Linked DNA regions of Homo sapiens: all the other regions are linked to region 1. The links are contacts of gene promoters, found by promoter capture Hi-C in human tissues and cell types (Jung and others, 2019). All regions are on one chromosome and are shown on one strand. Each heading gives the region's core, a stretch centred on a gene start or on the middle of the fragment in contact. The rest is flanking DNA. Distances are from core to core; before and after follow the strand shown. Region 1 holds the start of SHC4 (SHC adaptor protein 4). Region 2 overlaps SHC4 (SHC adaptor protein 4). Region 3 overlaps COPS2 (COP9 signalosome subunit 2).

Region 1 (3,024 bases), core at 434-2,933:
TTCTGAGGCATGTAGGCTGGTCTGGGCTCCTGGAGTCTGGCCAGCATGGTGCCTACCTAGATGAGCTGGCTCCCCTGGACACCCCATCCTGCAGTCATGAGACCTCTGTAAGGATTCCTATCAGCCAGGCAGGCCCATGTCCTTTCCAGCCTTCTCCAGGCCCACCTGATTTAAAAAATTGTTTTCTTTGGACAATGTTGAGTTTCTTAGCTTCTCCCACTTTGTACTAATTTTTCTTTTTAGTTGCCTAGAATGATGTAAACTCTGCAGTGTGAGGGTTAAGAATATGAGCTTCAAGGGGAGGTAGCTCTGGTTCCAATGGCCATTTTTTCATACTGCCCACATGTACTTAGTGAGATGGGCACTGTATGGAGCATTGGGCCTCGTAAGCCCTCATAACAACCCCATTAGATGGCTGCTGCCAACATATGAGGACATTCAGGCACGGAGAGGTAAAGTAACTTTCTAAAGGGAGCATATAATGAGGTCATCATAGCATAACAGAAGCAACACAGGGACCCAGGGACCCAGGGGAAGGCAGGAAAAATGAGAGGAAGAAAGCAGATGAGGAATGAGGAGGAATGAGAGGTAAATATTCTTGCCCAGAGCCTGTCTCCTCAGCCCCAGGGATGTGGGGTCCAACTGATTTAGCTACTTCCCTCAGTTTTGCCAGGAGGAGATGTAGGGCAGGGAAAAGGAGGTCAACAAGGATTGAAGGGAAGATTTATGAAGATGCAGAAAGGCCTTTCCAGGGAAAGAAATGTCTGAACAGGCTTGGCAGACAGGATGTGATGGGTGCTTTATTTCCCTGGGGGACCAGGGAGCTTGGGAGGAGGATGCCGCTTTCACTGGTCACTCTCAACCATTTAATTCAGAACCTGTGTTTGGATCCCAAGGGAGCTCAGGCTCCCAAAGTCATGAATATACATAAGCCTAATCCAGCATTAGGGACAATAAGATAATGAAGGTGGCACCCTTAATTCCTTTGGTTGCCAGTTTGTCTTAATTTTTTAATTAATGAACAATTTCAGATGTCAAAGCCTTGAGACACGGAGTAATGCAATCTTTTCTGAGAGTTCTTTATCTCTTCCTATGTGTGATTTCCACCCCACCCCGACACCCCACACCCCCAGTGTTTCAGCAGTTTCCTCTTCTCCATTCCTGAAGAACCTGCATTTCCTTTTCCCAGCTCTGGTTTTGGCTTCCTGTGTGCTAAGCCTTTGCAGTTGTCATCATGTCTTCAGGATGCATTTGATAGGTACAGGAAGTCGCACCAGACGGAAGATGGAACCAACAATCAATAAAAAAAGAACTATGTTTCTAAGAAAAATGCATCATGGCTTCCCACAGGAGTTGTGAACCATATGTCCTAATATCCCTGTAACAATGGGTCTAATTTTTAGCTCTTCTGCTCTGCCCTCCCGGCCATCTCAACAAGAAAGAAAATAGATCTTTTAACCTGCTGCTCCCCGGCTAATGATCTGTAGTAAAGATTGCCTTTCCTTTTAACTCATTCATCAGATACCACAAAATAAAATACGTCCCTCCTCTCCCGCTAGCTTTATTTCTCTCGGCTACTAGTTTAGTATATTTATGGTGTATGAGTCATCAAGCTGCCTCCTGATTGGATAAAAACCAAGCACCTCTGAGACCGTCAGTCAATTACAGCTATTCTCAGCTTCATTCACAGATTTATTAGCTTGCACACACACAGAGAAATTCATTCGGCAAAGTTCATTCATAAAAATTTCAACACGCTGCGTATCATCCTGCACATCTCAGCTTTCGGCTGCAAATGGGCTTCTGAAAAAAGCTCCGAGAGGAATCCAGGAGGGAGGGAAGCTCTGAGCGAGGGTAGGCAGGCTGGGAGGGGATCTGAGGAACACGGACCCATCACAAGTCAGTGAAACAATGCGGAGCAGCGCCCGTCAGTAGTACTCCTGGCTGGTGGCCCAGAACGGGATGCAAGACAAGATCTTCCAAGAGAGGGCAGCCTTTGGAATCAACGAACCCAGGCAAAAGGGCCTTTGGTTCATAGATACATTTTTTTTTCCTTTTTAAATGAACAATCACTGGAACAAATAAAGGGTTAATAGGCCAGTCATTTGCCCCGCCCTGTGAGAGCCGAAGGGAGCAGGTTCGAAAGTTCCTGTGTGCAGAACAGAAGGCTGGGGTGAGGGTGGGAGTCGGGTGCTAAATATTTCTACTAGGCTCCTGCAAGGCTAGTGATGCAGCGGGCCCCCCGACCGGCGCTCGCCCGGGTTCTGCGCCTAAGAGTTGGCCGTGAGCGACCCGCGCCGCCGGGAGCCTGGGTCTAGGCTCTCCCGACAAGGATTCCAAGGCGAGAACACTGGTGCCTCTGCCTGGGCCAGGGAGAGACTGAAATCAGAGCAGGGGAGGCGTTTCCCCCATGGGCTGTCACCCTTAAGGGGCCGGGAGCCGAGGTGGGCGAGCTCGAGAGCAGAGTTGGAGAGGTGGCTGCTGTGAGTTGCATCGGGCGTTGAGGTATCTGATGTCTGCACCGTTTATCTACCAGACGACGAGGCGATTTATGCAACAGTATCCTGTTTCAGCACTGCCAAGGCTATGCGAGAACGCGGCCAGGACAGCCTGGCAGGACTCGTGCTGTATGTAGGACTCTTCGGGCACCCCGGGATGCTGCACAGGGCCAAGTACAGCCGCTTTCGGAACGAGTCGATCACGTCCTTGGACGAAGGTAGCTCCGGAGGCTCGGTCGGGAACAAGGGCTCGCCGCAGCCTCCCCACCCCGCCCTGGCACCTCACCTGCCGACTGAAGATGCCACCTTGCCGTCGCAGGAGAGCCCCACCCCACTGTGCACCTTGATCCCCCGCATGGCAAGCATGAAGCTGGCCAACCCGGCCACTTTGCTGAGTCTGAAAAACTTTTGCCTGGGTACCAAAGAGGTGCCTCGGCTGAAGCTCCAGGAAAGCCGGGACCCAGGTTCCAGCGGCCCCTCTTCCCCAGAAACCAGTTTAAGTAGGTCCGGGACTGCACCTCCACCG
Region 2 (2,963 bases), core at 40-2,539, 140 kb after region 1:
ATATGGATAACAGTTTGCCAATCATCTCCTCTGGAAGCGAAGTAAGCCTTAAACAACCAGTGAGAAAAGATAATAATCCAGCACTTTTGCATTCCAACAAATGACAGTATTGAAGCACCATCACACTGATATTTCAAGAAACCCCATTTTGTATTAGGACACAAAGATAATTTAAACTTTGTTTGTAGATAAAATAGAGCACAAACTGTGAAGTGCATCTTTCCAAGACCATCATGGACCAGGTCCTCTATAAAATGAAGAACTAACAAAAATTAGTCTTCAGAAATGAAAATCAGAAAAGAGGAAGAGGGTTGGTCATTTTAAAAGAAATTATATGTATGCACGGATGTCACTTTTTAAGGCCATATTGCATTGATAACAAGCTAAAAGCACAACTAAAATTTCACATGCTAACGACAACTTGAATGAACTGCTGGGGCAGTGGTATGTGCCTTTCAACTTGATAATTTGGGGGACATTTTCATATTGGGAGATTAATTCTAAGTATCTTCATGTTCTATGACTATAGAACCATTTGCCAAAAAAAAAAGCTTTTCTTGCTACAAAAAATAAGCAATTTTCTTGAGCCTTATTGACTTTATTACATTTTCTGTTTAGCAGCATTTTTCACTGCAATGTTAAAATAAATATGACATTGAATTCGAACTGTGTGTATGTCAGTGGAATCAAATCAAAAGCCACTAACATGGCTGTCTGTTTCATTGGACTGTCCCATTTGCTGGTTAAAAGGATTGGGGCCCAAATCCTCTGGCCTAGCATTTCTCAGTGTTTGCTATTCAGACTGTCTAAATACAGCATGTGACAAGCTGAAGAAGCCAAATCTATCAGTCATTTCTGATTTCATTATATTCTCCCCCTCTTCCTGCTAAAAAGACAAAAAACAAAAAACAAAAAAAACAAAAAAAACCTCATGAGTGCATGGATTTAAAAGAGGGCAAACAAAACCAGTATTCTTCATATTTACTATTCAAATTGGTTTCATTCTTAGTAAAAGTACAGAATCTATTTGAAATTATAGTAAAATTTCTTCTTGATTGGCTGACACTGAATCATAGTTTCTCACCTACATATATCCTTAGCACCTCGTATAGATATGATCAGACAAAATGCAGAAGGAAAAAAAAACATATTGAATGAAGCACTTGGAAAGATTTTCCACATGTAGACCAACTGGTAAACTAACAGAGTGATTAAGCATGGTGTACAGAAAAGCATTACGCTGAGTCTTACCAGTGTGACCTTCAGCAAGTTGCTGAATCTGTTTGGGTTCCAGTTTCCTTGGCAATAAAATGAGCTAAATGGGCTAGGTGAATTTGGAGGACTACTTCAGTCCTAACTTATAGTATGAGTCTCTAAAAAGCAAGTTTTTCATTTGTTAGAGGTCGTTATTGATAACCAGTCTGTATAGTTAAGGTAAAAAATTAAGCTTTTCTTCTATAGTCTGTGTCCATACTCACAGAATGAATGGCACACCTGAGATCAACATTCACATAGTTTAGACTCCAAACCATTCAGTCTAAAATACTGAAACTTTGGAATATAGGGAATGATGATAAAAGTGGATTTGGTTTGAGTAGCAGAAAACTACTTATGTCCTTTTCTTGCCTTTCCAAGAAAAATGTTTTTTGTTTTTTTTTTTAATCTTGAGTTATCTGGATATTGCCTTGACTCCATTTCATTTTGGCTATGTAGATACAACTTAGTCTTTGTGATTGTGATATATTTGCTAAGTTTTAAATAAAACTTCTTTTGGATAGAAATCATTAGAAACCAAGCATACTGCACTCTAATATTTTACTGTAAAGGCTTATGATTTTTATTTCTACTGCCATTAATTTTTTAGATGGATTTGTTTCCTCTTACACAACTAGAATTAATGTATTTTTCACCAGTTTTCCATATACCTTAGGTCTTGATCGTTTGTCCTTAAAAAGGGGATCAGCATGAGTATAGACAGTAGAAATGTATGGGTAGTCTAACCACTTTTATCAGAGACAGAGCAGGGCTGTGGTCTCACTCTAGCTGAGCAGAGTATTAACTTGGTAGCAAGAGTTCCTGATACAAATAGATGCAATGACTGTAAATGGTGTCAGCAGTACACATGGATAATCAGTATTTGACTGTAATAGTATAGTAGTTAAATACAGCACTTAAAAATACCACAGACACAGTTAAAGCAAAAGGAAACAATAAAAGGAATGTCTGCATGCTATTTTAATCTCACATTCTTTATCTGTCTTAAAGTGGAAATCCATTTGCCTATAAATACCTGTAAACGACTTTAAAAAATAAATGATTATTGCTTTGTGACAATTGACAGAATATGTCTGATGTTTGGGATTTGGAAACTGTCATTTGTAAAATGTATCAGGGAAACACATTGGCTCAATCAAACTGGATAATTCAAGGTGAGTTTATTAAAGGGACTATTTACAAAGGTGTGGGCAGAGTTTAGGGAAATCAGGAGGGAGAATGCAGTGCCTTGGGGCCAATTAAGGGAGAAAGGGAAAGAACAGCTAACAGAATCTGGAGAGGGAGCTGTGTGCAAGGGCTGCCTTTTAGGAGCTGTGGCCTGTAGTGGAGGAATGCAATCAGCCCTGCTGACTCAACTAAGAGGCAGTGAGGGGCATTCATAACCCAACGTTTTTCTGCTCCCCCTATCTGTCTCCTGCTGGGATTCTCCAGTGGCCCAAGTAACTTGAAGACAGAGAGCAAGGGAGCTCCTTGATGCAGTTCTGGAGGTCAGCCTCCTGGGAACAGAGGAGGATGGAAAAGACTAGAGGGGGAGATCTGGAAGGGCAAATAAATGGAGTACATCTAGCACAGAGGACTTTGAAGAGAGTCAAGCTTCTAAAAGCATTAGAGAGGCTTTGGGTTAGCCAGTAAGGCAAAGCTAATTTGCAGAGAAATAAGTCCAGATTCTCAGGTAACCATAAATGAAT
Region 3 (2,720 bases), core at 16-2,515, 170 kb before region 1:
TTTTAAGTTGTACAGCTGAGTTTTACCACAGCTGGAAAAATGTAGTTAGGGACATGAAGCAGGGCTTTTTTTTTTTTTTTTTTTTTTGCAGATATATGTAAATAATTTAGGTGACCAGAAGTTCTATTTATAGTACTTTTTCATTTAACAGAAAACACTATTAGACTGTACATTATGGGTCACCTACATATAAATTGTGTATACTTGGAGAAGATAGCTTATTTCATGATATTAAAGTTCCTGTGTAAAATGTCCTCATTTAACTTTTTTTAAAGAAACCTTAATTTTGGCTGTAAAAAAAAAAGCGTTTTTTTTTAGGGGGACTAAGAACAGTTTGGAATTAAAAACCTTAAGTTACCACATTAAATCAGTTTCTTTATTGTTTACTTTATTTTAATTTATTTGTTGAATTAGGTTGCTTTTCATTATTAAAGGAAACGTCATCTTTATTTCAGATAGTTTATTTCATTCACATTTGGTCACATTAACTAAGAACCAAAGTTGTTTATAATGTTAAATTGCTAAGCAGCAGTTTACACTTTTAAAACTCTAAGAAATATTGAGGAAAAGCTTTACCCTAGACATTGATATTTTGTATAAATTAAATTGGCTAAGTACATTAAAATTGGTTAAAGGACTGATTTGTCAGACCTTTATCTGACCTATATCAGAATATATAATGACATTTATAAATTTATTATATCCAACTACTCCAGCAAAGCCACTGTATTAGAACTCAAAACTTATTTTAATGGTAAATTTTGACCCACATGATGTGATGCATGGTGTCCCACAATTTTGTATAAGATGTTTTTTTTGAAACCCCACTTAAGAAATGGAAGAATGTCTTACGGTTAAAATATGTATGTACACAAATATAAAACAAATGTTTGTGCAAGTGTTTTCAATGCTTGAATATGTCCTCCTATAGTATATTACAGCAGTGTATTTGGGGTAGGTAAGAAAGTAATGCTTCCTAATTTTGTCTTCCTAGTCAGTTGCCAGGAGACTAGAGGAAAATAATTCCTGTCAAAGCACTTGAATCACGTGCCCCTAATATGAGGTTACATTGGGACCCAACAGATGGAAGCACTAGCAGAGGGCGTGCAGTATAGCTGATGATAATGTCTTACGTATAAAGCAGACAATGGTGCCATATCCACAAGGTTGGATTCTTCCTTCTCAGCACCTTTAGCAATTCCCATAGAGCTTTACAGAATTATTTCAAGAGGAGATACTAGATACCTCAGAGAATTATGAATATAAATCAGTCTTTGGCCTTCTGCAACAGGGGATTGAGAAATGTTCCTTTTGAAAATTTTCACAGTTGCTGGTAGCTTTCTAGAATATAAAAATTAAGAAGCTGCATTTTCTGAATAACCTACACAGAGGATATGCTTTCTCATTTGAAAGACGAGGCTACACCCCTTCATGTAGTGTACATGAAGCCTGGTTCCTTTCATTATGAACAATTAGGAATTAAATGCACAATTTCATTTGAAAACATCAAACATTAAATAGTTGTTAAATGTTTTATTGCCAACTTTTAAGAGAAGTAAGATATTGAGGTGATTTTAATTAACTTTGTATAAATATAGTATATAACCCCAAAAGAAGATTTATTTAATCTTTCTTTTAAAAAACCAAAAGCATGAAAAGGAAATTTATGTTTTTTTTGGCAGAAGGTTATGTGTGCTTGTTTAACTGTGATTTCCATGACAGAAAGTATAATATTATTTAGATTTTTGCATATGAAAGTTGAGAAGCAGGGTCTTTGGATTATCTGATTTAATACATAACTTCTTCATGTTTGACATAATTTACACTTTGTTTTTCTATTAGTGCCTATCAGAATAATGACATCACTGAATTTGAAAAGATTCTAAAAACAAATCACAGCAACATCATGGATGATCCTTTCATAAGAGAACACATTGAAGGTATGTTCTTTCTGCCAACTGGATTCTATTACTTTCTTTGCCACTGTCAAAGAAATGCCACTTAATGAAGCTGCATGGCATTAAGCTGTTTTCTTTCTGTCTATTGCAAAGTATAGATATGTTTCTAAATGCTGTCATTGGATGGGATATTCCTTAAAATTATGAAGCTCTTTTAAAGAAATTGACCAATTTCATATTACTATAGTCAAGTTTATATATAATGTCCATTTTGTTTAAGGTAACTGTCCCTTTTTAAAAAAATCTAATATAGATGCTGTTGCATGTTTATTATTGATGCTTAGGTTCAAAGTTAATTTTTAAGGTTTATTTTTGACAAATAACAAAAGTTATGAAAATATCCTGCTATAGATAATGCTAAGATATATGTACTATGAAAGATAAGGCAACACTGTGAAGGTTTCATACCAGTAAGTGAATGAGGTTTTTAGCAAGTTATATTGAATTACCAAAGACTACAATCATCTCTTTGCTCTTGGACTTCTTTTATAGCTCCGATTTTCCCACCTATTATGGAGCTATTTGAAGGTTTTTAAATGACCATTTGGAACTAAATTTCAGATGCATCAGAAGTAATGTTCTGTTCCCCATCTTTCTTTCTCTTTTAATCAACAGACATTTTAAAAGTTCTTACATGAACCTGGAATGATACTGCAGTTTATAGATATAGAAAAACGTAGAATCTTTGTACATGAATTTCAACCTGGTTTTAAAAAATTTTAAGAACTATTGTACAGACAAAACTGGAGGAAATTGTAAAAG

Evidence for each region. The method cuts DNA at HindIII sites, captures the fragments that hold promoters and counts their contacts. A contact is called where the count stands out against the background at its distance.
Region 2: a fragment that was not itself captured here is called in contact with the fragment with the promoter of SHC4 in region 1 in 1 of the 25 tissues and cell types used here (H1 embryonic stem cells).
Region 3: a fragment that was not itself captured here is called in contact with the fragment with the promoter of SHC4 in region 1 in 1 of the 25 tissues and cell types used here (adrenal gland).

What each region holds. Positions count from the first base shown.
Region 1 is chr15:48,962,578-48,965,601 of GRCh38, reverse strand. It overlaps SHC4 (SHC adaptor protein 4), which reads left to right and starts at 1,683. Exons shown (of 12, transcript NM_203349.4): 1 at 1,683-3,024. The coding sequence starts at 2,587. RefSeq lists enhancers at 2,205-2,706, 2,707-3,024. The HindIII fragment of the contact is 15,905 bases long and covers 1-3,024 here.
Region 2 is chr15:48,823,112-48,826,074 of GRCh38, reverse strand. SHC4 (SHC adaptor protein 4) reads left to right here. Exons shown (of 12, transcript NM_203349.4): 12 at 1-2,334. The coding sequence ends at 104. Among named protein-coding and RNA genes, the nearest start is that of CEP152, 14 kb to the right of the region's middle. The HindIII fragment of the contact is 4,959 bases long and covers 1-2,963 here.
Region 3 is chr15:49,129,939-49,132,658 of GRCh38, reverse strand. COPS2 (COP9 signalosome subunit 2) reads left to right here. Exons shown (of 13, transcript NM_004236.4): 10 at 1,843-1,940. Among named protein-coding and RNA genes, the nearest start is that of COPS2, 24 kb to the left of the region's middle. The HindIII fragment of the contact is 6,490 bases long and covers 1-2,720 here.